Linked DNA regions of Homo sapiens: region 1 is linked to region 2. Evidence: promoter capture Hi-C in human tissues and cell types (Jung and others, 2019). All regions are on one chromosome and are shown on one strand. Each heading gives the region's core, a stretch centred on a gene start or on the middle of the fragment in contact. The rest is flanking DNA. Distances are from core to core; before and after follow the strand shown.

The links. Contacts are between HindIII fragments. The study calls those that stand out against the background at their distance.
Region 1: a contact is called between a fragment that was not itself captured here and the fragment with the promoter of TIGD7 in region 2, in 3 of the 25 tissues and cell types used here (adrenal gland, spleen and stomach).

What each region holds. Positions count from the first base shown.
Region 1 is chr16:3,418,519-3,423,361 of GRCh38, forward strand. No RefSeq gene overlaps it. Among named protein-coding and RNA genes, the nearest start is that of ZNF174, 20 kb to the left of the region's middle. RefSeq lists a silencer at 1,785-2,067. The HindIII fragment of the contact is 7,760 bases long and covers 1-4,843 here.
Region 2 is chr16:3,302,748-3,307,561 of GRCh38, forward strand. TIGD7 (tigger transposable element derived 7) reads right to left here and starts at 2,683. Exons shown (of 2, transcript NM_033208.4): 1 at 2,465-2,683. ZNF75A (zinc finger protein 75A) reads left to right here and starts at 2,750. Exons shown (of 7, transcript NM_001302109.2): 1 at 2,750-2,896. RefSeq lists an enhancer at 2,244-2,773. The HindIII fragment of the contact is 22,904 bases long and covers 1-4,814 here.

The sequences.
Region 1 (4,843 bases), core at 960-3,459, 120 kb after region 2:
AAAGACAGGGTTTTACCGTGTTAGCCAGGATGGTCTTGATCTCCTTACCTTGTGATCTGCCTGCCTTGGCCTCCCAAAGTGTTGGTATTACAGGCGTGAGCCACCACACCCAGCCTACAGAAAAATTTAAAAAATTGGACAAGTGTGGTGGCACATGCTGTAGTCTCAGCTGCTTGGGAGGCCAAGGCAGGAGGATTACTTGAGCCCAGGAGCTAGGCTGCAATGAATTATGATTGTACCACTGCAGTCTAGTCTGGGGGAGTGAGAGCCCATCTCAAAAAAATAAAATGAAATAAAGAGAAGAATGAAATTACTCTTTGATCCATGGGCTGCAGAATAAATGTTGTGTTAGCAGGCATGAAAACATTAACTTCCTTGTATATCTCCATCAGAGCTCTTGGTTGTCCAGGTGCATTGTAATAAACTGTAATATTTGGAAAGGAATATTTTTTTTTCTGAGCAGTAGGTCTCAACAATGGGCTTAAAATATTCAGCAAACCATGCTGTAAACACATAGGTTGTCATCCAGTCTTTGTTGTTCAACTGATAGAGCACAGGCAGAATAAACATAATTCTTAAGGGCTTCAGGATTTTTCAGAATGGTAAATGAGAACTGGCTTCACCAACGGCATTCACCCCAACAAAAGAGTCAGCCTGCCCTTTAAGGCTTTGAAGCCAGGCATTGACTTCTCCTCTCTAGCTACAAAAGTCTTAGATGGCATCTTTCCCCAATAGCAGGCTGTTTTGTCTACATTGAAAATCTGTTCTTATTGTAGCCACTTTCATCAATGATCTTAGCTAGATCTTCTGGATAACATGCTGCAGTTTCTCCATCAGCACTTGAAGCTTCACCTTGCACTTTTATATTATGGAGATGGCTTTTCTCCTTAAACCTCATGAACCAACTTTTGTTACTTCCCAACATTTCTTCTGCACCTTCTTCACCTCTCTCAGCCTTCACAGAACTGAAGAGAGTTTGGGCCTTGCTCTGGATTAGGCTTTAGTTTAAGGGAATGTTGTGGCTGGTTTGATCTTCTATCCACACCACTCAAACTTGCCCCATATCAGCAAAAAGACTGTTTCACTTTTTTATCATTCATGTGTTCACTGGAGTAGCACTTTAAATTTCCTTCAAGAACTTTTCCTTTGAATTCACAATTTGGTTAAACATTTGGCACAAGAAACCTAGCTTTTGGCCTGTCTCAGGTTTTGACATGCCTTTCTCACTAAGCTTAATCATTTCTACCTTTTGATTTAAAGTGAGAGATGGGCCAAGGGGTGGTTCATGCCTGTAATCTCAGCACTTTGGGAGGCTGGGGTGGGTGGATCACAAGGTCAAGAGTTGGAGACCAACCTGGCCAACATGGTGAAACCCCATCTCTACTAATAATACAAAAATTAGCCAGGAGTGGTGGTGCACACCTGTAGTCCTAGCTACTCAGGAGGCTGAGGCAGGAGAATCGCTTGAACCTGGAAGGCAGAGGATGTAGTGAGCCAAGATCACGACACTGCACTCCAGCCTGGGCGACAGAGCGAGACTCCATCTCCAAAAATAAATAAATAAAGTGAGAGATGTGTGACTCTTCCTTTCACTTGAACACTTAGAGGTCATCGTAGAGTTATTAAGTGGTCTAATGTCAATATTTTTGTGTCTCAGGGAAAAGGGAGGTCCAAGGAGAGGAAGAGCGATGGGAGTATGGCTGGTCAGTGGAACAGTATTGAAAGTTCCATGCAGGCTGGGTGCGGTGGCTCATGCCTGTAATCCCAGCACTTTGGGAGGCCAAGGTGGGCAGATCATGAGGTCAGGAGTTCGAGACCAGCCTGGACAATATGACAAAACCCCGTCTCTACTAAAAATACAAAAATTAGCCGGGCATGCTGGCATGCACCTGTAGTCCCAGCTACTCGGGAGGCTGAGGCAGGAGAATCGCTTGAACCGGGGAGGCAGAGGTTGCAGTGAACTGAGGTCCTACCACTGCACTGCAGCAGGGGTTGACAGAGTGAGACTCCATCAAAAAAAAGAAAGAAAGAAACACAGAAAGAGAGAGAGACGAAAGAAAGAGAGAGAGAGAGAGAGAGAGAAAGAAAGAAAGAAAGAAAGAAAGAAAGAAAGAAAGAAAGAAAGAAAGAAAGAAAGAAAGAAAGTTCCGTGCAGTATTTTCTGTTCCTGCCAGTAGTTTCTGGCCTCCAACTCCATCGATATTCCTGCAAAAGACATGATCTCATTCTTTTTTATGGCTGCACGGTATTTCATGGTGTATATGTACGTTTTCTTTATCCAGTCGTCACTGATGGGCCTTTGATTCCACGTCTTTGTTATTGTGAATGGTGCTGCTGTGAACATTCATGTGCATGTGTCTTTACAAGAGAATGATTTATATTTCTCTGGGTACATACCCAGTAATGGGATTGTGGGGTCAAACTGTAGTTCTCTTTTTAGCACTTTGAGGAATCGCCATACTGCTCTCCACAATGGTTGGGCGAAATTTATACTCCCACTAACAGTGTATAAGTGTTCCCTTTTCTCTGCAATCTTGCCAGCATATTTTTTGACTTTTTAATAACAGCCATTATCACTGGTGTGAGATGGTATCTCATTATGGTTTTGATTTGCATTTCTTTAATGATTAGTGATATTGAGCTTTTTTTCTTATGATTGTTGGTTGCATGTATGTCTTCTTTTGAAAATTGTCTGTTCATGTCCTTTGCCTACTTTTTAATGGGGTTGTTTTTCTCTTGCAAATTTGTTTACATTCCTTATAGATGCTGGATATTAGACCTTTGTCAGACGCATATTTGCAAATATTTTCTTCCATTCTGGAGGTTGTCTGTTTACTCTGTTGATAGTTTCTTTTGCTGTGCAGAGGAAGCTCTTTAGTTCAATTAGGTCCCATGTCTCAATTTTTGCTTTTGTTGCAATTGCTTTTGGAGTCTTTGTCATGAAATATTTTCGATCCTATGTCCAAGACGGTATTGCCTCGGTTGTCTTCTAGGGTTTTTATAGCTTTGGATTTTACATTTAAGTCTTTAATCCATCTTGAGTTGATTTTTGTATATGGTGTAAAGAAGGGGTCCAGTTTCAATCTTCTGCATATGGCTAGCCAATTATCCCAGCACCATTTATTGAACAGGGATTCCCTCCACCCACACACCATTGCTTGTTTTTGTCAGCTTTATTGAAGATCAGATGATCTTAGGAGTGTGGCCTTATTTCTGGTCTCTCTATTCTGTTCCATTGGCCTATGTGCCTGTTTTTGTACCAGTACCATGCTGTTTTGGTTACTGTAGCCCTGTAGGACAGTTTGAAGTCAGGTAATGTGATGCCTCCAACTTTGTTCTTTTTGCTTAGGATTGCCTTGGCTATTCAGGCTCTTTTTGGTTCCATGTGAATTTTTTTTTTTTTTTTTTGAGACAGAGTCTTGCTCTGTTGCCCAGGCTGGAGTGCAGTGGCGCAATCTTGGCTCACTGCAAGCTCCGCCTCTCGGGTTCATGCCATTCTTCTGCCTCAGCCTCATGTGTAGCTGGGACTACAGGCACCTGCCACCATGCCCAGCTAATTTTTTTTTTTTTGGTATTTTTAGTAAAGATGGGGTTTCGCCGTGTTAGCCAGGATGGTCTCAATCTCCTGATCTCGTAATCTGCCCATCTCGGCCTCCCAAAGTGCTGGGATTACAGGTGTGAGTCACCGCAGCCAGCTGGTTCCATGTGAATTTTAAAATAGTTTTTTATAATTCTATGAAGAATGTCATTGGTAGTTTGATAGGAATAGCATTGAATCTACAAATTGCTTTGGGCAATATGTCCATTTTAATGATATTTATTCTTCCAATCCATGAGCATGGGATGTTTTTCCATTTGTGTCATCTCTGATTTATTTCAGCTGTGTGCTGTAATTCTCATTGTAGGGATCTTTCACCTCCCTAGTTAGCTGTATTCCTAGGTATTTTATATACTTATTTATTTTTTTGAGATGGAATCTTGCTGGGATTACAGGTGTGAGCCTCCATGCACGGCTTGGTATTTTATTCTTTTTGTGGCAATTGTGAATGGGATTGCCTTCCTGATTTGACTCTCGGCTTGGCTGTTGTATGTGCATAGGAATGCCGGTAATTTTTGTACATTGACTTTGTATCCTGAAACTTTGCTGAAGTTGTTTATCAGCTGAAGGAACTTTTGGGCTGAGACAATGGGGTTTCCTAGATAGAAACATGTCATCTGCAAACAGGGAGAGTCTGACTTCTTTTCTTCCTATTTGGATGCCTTTTCTTTCTTTCTCTTGCCTCATTATTCTGGCCAGGACTTCCAATACTACGTTGAATAAAAGTGGTGAGAGAGGGCATTATTGACTTGTGCCAGTTTTCAAAGGGAATCCATCCTGCTTTTCCTCATTCAATGTGTTGGTTATTTTATGTTTTCTTTAGAAAAATGTCCATTCAAATTCATTGCCCATTTTTTAATTGGGCTATTTGGTTAATTTGTTTTTGAGTTGTGTGAGTTCCTCATATATTTGATGACTTTATCAGATATATTATTTGCAGGTATTTTCTTTTAATCCATAGTCTACCTTTTCATTTTGTTGACTGCCTCCTTTGCTTTGCAGCAGTTTTATAGCTTGATGTAATCCTACTTGTTTCTTGTGTCTTGCTTTGTTTTTTTTTTTGCCTCAGCTTTTGGTGTGATATTCAAAAAATCATTGCTGGCTGAGTGCAGTGGGTTACATTTGCAATCCCAGCACTTTGGGAGGCTGAGGCAGGCGGATCACCTGAGGTCAGGAGTTCGAGACCAGCCTGGCCAACATGGCAAAACCCCGTCTCTACTAAAAGTACAAAAATTAGCTGGGTAT
Region 2 (4,814 bases), core at 1,433-3,932:
AAAAATATTCAGGCCACTATGACAGTTGTGTAGGTGTCTCAGAATTAATGTATTTGCTTTCAATGCTTCTCAGCTGTGCCGTCGTCTTTTTTTTTTTTTTTTTTTTTTGAGATGGGGTCTGGTTCTGTCGCCCAGGCTGGAGTGCAGTGACACAATCTCGGCTCACTGCAACCTCTGCCTCCAGGGTTCAGGCCATTCTCGTGCCTCAGCCTCCTAAGTAGCTGGGATTACAGGCACGCACCACCATGCCCCGCTAATTTTTATATTTTTAGTACAGACAAGGTTTTGCCATGTTGGCCAGGCTGGTCTCGAACTCCTGACCTCAAGTGATCCACCCACCTAGGCCTCCCAAAGTGCTGGGATTACAGGTGTAAGCCACTGCGCCCAGCCACAGTCATCATTTCTAAAACAGTGCCCAAGCAAGGGGAGGTGAAACCAAAAGGAAAGGCTCAAGGAATGTTTGTGGGCTTCAAAGGATAAGCCACTATGGCAGCAAACCTCACACAATGAAAATCACCAGTGCCTCTTATTCACTATTCACAATTTGTGCCTTGCTGCCTCTTTTTCCCATGAATCCCTTTTCCCTTTAACCAACTTCCTGTGTTATGAATCAGGCCTGTCAATGATATCCAAGGGCACTGCTTAGCACTGCTAGCAGAACTTCACTTATTCAACTTAATAAATTCTAATTATATATTCAGCATTGGGCCAGGTGATGAGAATCTTAATGCTGATGGCGCTACTGTCCACTGGTTCTGATAGACTGAGAATATTTACTGCTGAAGAAATGAAGTCCCAACCTGGCTGAGATTTTAAGGAAATGAACCTACTTAGACACAAATTCAAGTGACTTAGGCAGATGCTCATTATTAAATCTGTTTATCTTTCTCTCTCACTTAAAAAGGATCAAGATCTATGCCTAAGAGGAGTTACATACCATCCCATCCAAAAGCAAAAATAGCATAATGGCCTGGTAATGGCCTCTCATCTTCATTCTCACCTTAAACTTACCTTAGATGAACTGCCATAGAAAGCAGCTCAGTCCAAAACGCTCAAATGGTGCTCCAGGATTTACTTTTTTGTATTGTTTTGTTTTGTTTTTTGCGACGGAGTCTCGCTCTGTCGCCCAGGCTGGAATGCAGTGGCGTGAACTCGGCTCACTGCAAGCTCCGCCTCCCGGGTTCACGCCATTCTCCTGCCTCAGCCTCCCGAGTAGCTGGGACTACAGGCGCCCACCACCACGCCCGGCTAATTTTTTTTTGTATTTTTTAGTAGAGACGGGGTTTCACCATGTTAGCCAGGATGGTCTCGATCTCCTGACCTCATGATCCGCCCGCCTCGGCCTCCCAAAGTGCTGGGATTACAGGCGTAAGCCACCGCGCCCGGCCAGGATTTACTTTCTTAAATGCACTCTTTTCATTCCCATTCAAAGGACTCCAGTATAAGTGCCACATAAACTCGTTTTCTAACTTTTAAAACTCTTCCTCTAAATGCAGCCCAACTCAGTAAAAACGTACCTAAGATCTCACAGTCTAATGTTTCCAGCTTTTAAAGCCTTTACTCCTACCCTTCCCTCTGCCTGGAAAGTGTCTCCATTCCCTGCTGTGGACAAAATCCCTCAAGGTCTTTTATAATTTCCCCCAACCCCAAATCAACTTGGATTTTCTTGGAGTTCTCACAGCATTCAGTTTATGTCCTATTCTTACCCTTGTGTTACTGATATTCACGAAATTGCTCAGTCCTTTCAAGAGATTGCTTAAGGACAAAGACTTCTTACTCAACTCTGCAATATTGGCTACACATAGCTGACTTAATAAATAGTCCCTTGACTGGTATAAGCTGACGTTACAAAAACTGGTAATTCCGAAACCACTCATACTGGACTTATTAAATAATCCCTCAACTGGTACAGACTGACATTACAAAAACGGATTAATTCAGAGATCACTGAACACCCAAAACACTCAGATTCTTATAACTATGATTCAGTAAATATGTGTGGAATGCCTATCTTACCAGGTGACTATGTTAGGCGCTGCATGAGATATAAGATGAAAACAAGGTTCCCATTTTCCAGGGAAGAATACTGGAGTGGAAAACGCAGAGGATACCACAACAGGAGAGCTATTTCCGATTAGCGGCCGCCACTGCTGAGCTATGTGACCCTGAGCAAGTCACTTCTTAGGTCTCCGTTTCTCTGTCAAGGAGAGATAGAAAAAGAACCTATTTCACAGGTTCAAACCTACCTCAAGAAAAAATAGTTGTGGGGAATGCGTCACGAGACCTAGAAAACGGTACAAAACCCTCGGGGGGCCGCTGTTTCTGACCTAGCGAGTGGCCCGACCCGGACAAAATGCCTCTTCCTCGAGGAGGCGGCGACGAGCCCAGCAACAGCTCGAGCACGGCCGGCCGGGCCGCGGGAAGCCCGAGAACGCGGCGCGCGCAGCTGGGAGGCGACCCTTACCCGGCGAGGCTCCCGGGACCAAACGCCGCCCGACAGCCACGCAGAACAGACGCGGCAGTGCGACGCCTCCCCCACTGGGGACACGAGACAGCGACAGCCACGCGGTGAGCCGGTACAAGGCCCTCTAGGCTTCAGCGGGTCTGGATACTCGGTGGCATTAACCCTTCCCTACCGCCGGGGAAGACAGCAGTTTCTCTGGCGAGGAAGTAGGCCGGGCTCAGGCGCCTTAGCCAGAGGGCGGGCCTGCGCCACCCTCGGAAAGCGTCACTTCCACTTCCGGCCGGCGCTCTGGCTCTGTACCTGGACAGGGCTGCGGTAGGCCAGCGGTGGGCTGGCGGTTGCGCTCCTCAGATCGGCGGCCTTTCGGGCGGTGGCTTGCGTTTGAGCCTCAGAAAGCGAGGAGCGGCCTCCACGGAAGCCAAGCTGGCCGAGGTAACCGAGAAGCGGCTTCCCCTATGGCTTCGACCCTGGAGCCGCTGGAGCGGCGGCGGCCGCAGGGAGGCAGCCATTTTCCGTAGGCGGTGGCCGCGGCGCTTCCGGGCCGCGCGGCTGGAGCCTGAGGCGGGGCCACCGTCGGGCACGAGAAACCATTCTCTCCCCGCTTTTCGCAGCTGTATCCCAGAGGCGCGGCTGAAGCTCGCTGGGACACTGCCCGCTTGCCCAGTGCCCACGGGCACGCCTGTCGCAGACACAGGCTGTGGCGAATCCGAGTGCTGGCGGGCAGCAGTGCCTGCAGCTGCGCCCGCAGACTCTTTCCCGCCTCCGCCGGCATTTCCGTGTCCGGCCGATGTCATGCGGTCGGTTGAGCCTCAGGGCTAGCAGCTTCTACTGATGCAAAAACATAGGAAGTGTCTCTTTGCTTCTGGAACCGGGGTGGGCAGCAAGGAGCTGGCCACTTCTTTGAATACCGGTGGCATCCTGGGCAGAATTTCGGTGCCGTTTCTGCTGGCTCACTTCAGGAAAAGTGAGGCTCACGGCTCTCCTCAGCCCCCCTTAGAAGTCTAAATGACCTTTGGAGAAATACAAAGTCAGCAGAAAGTTTCACTTTCATCGTCACCAACTCCTGTTGGAGTTGATATTTCATAAACATCAGCGACAGAAAGAAAATACGACTTGATATTTTGTAAATAAAATATCCTTTTTTACAAGTTGATATTTTGTAAACAGAGGTCAGCTGTAATTTTCTCCAGATCAAGTAAGCACAGTTAAAAATTCATATAGGCCTGGCGCGGTGTTTGACGCCTGTAATCCCAGCACTTTGGGAGGCCAAGATGGGTGGATCACGAGGTCAGGAGATCGAGACCACCCTGGCCAAGATGGTGAAACCCTGTCTCTACTAAAAACACAAAAATTAGCCGGGCATGGTGGCACGCGCCTGTAATCCCAGCTAGTCGGGAGGCTGAGGCAGGAGAATGGCTTCAACCGGGGAGGTGGAAGTTGCAGTGAGCTGAGATCACGCCACTGCACTCCAGCCTGGGTGACAGGGCGAGACTCCATCTCAAAAAAAAAAACAAAATTCGTATAAATCATCTGCATGGCACCCTTTATGTGTGTTGCAAAGAATGATGAGCATCTTGTTGCTTACTTGGGAGACATTGTCTGAAAATAGGCTACTTTTTTACTTTCTGTAGTACCCCCTCCCCCCACTGTATCTGGGTTTCACTTACCCGCTGTCAACTGCCATCCAAAAAATATTAAATGGAAAACTCCAGAAATAAACAGTTCATAAGTTTTAAATAACTTTTTTTTTTTTTTTTGGAGATGGAATCTCGTTTTGCTGCCCTGGCTGGAGTGCCGTGGCACAGTCTGAGCTCACTGCAGCCTTCACCTCCCGGGTTCAAACAATTTTCCTGCCTCAGCCTCCTGGGTAGCTGGGACTACAGGCGCGCACTACCACACCTGGCTAATTTTTGTGTTTACAATAAAGAAGGTTTCACCATGTTGGCCAGGCTGGTCTTGAAGTCCTGGTCTCAGGTGATCCACCCACGTCAGGCCTCCCAAAGTGCTGGGATTACAGGCATGAGCCACGGCGCACCGCCAGTTTTAAATAACTCTTACTACAGTGTTTTATTGTTAATCTCTTATTGTACCTAATTTATAAATTAAGGTATCATAGCTATGTATACATAGAGAAAATAGTATAATGCAGTTAGATGCTGTTGGGGGTTTTAGGTATTCACAGAATGTACTGGAACTTACCCCCCTTGGAGAAGGGATACTACTGTATTTTGATCTCACCGTCTCAGCTCTTTTGCCAGTATTCCTACAATGGAAAATCTAAAATGTTGTTTTTTAAGGTGCCTTTATTTTTAGTTTTTAAATTAGAGACAAAGTCTTGCTCTAACTCCCA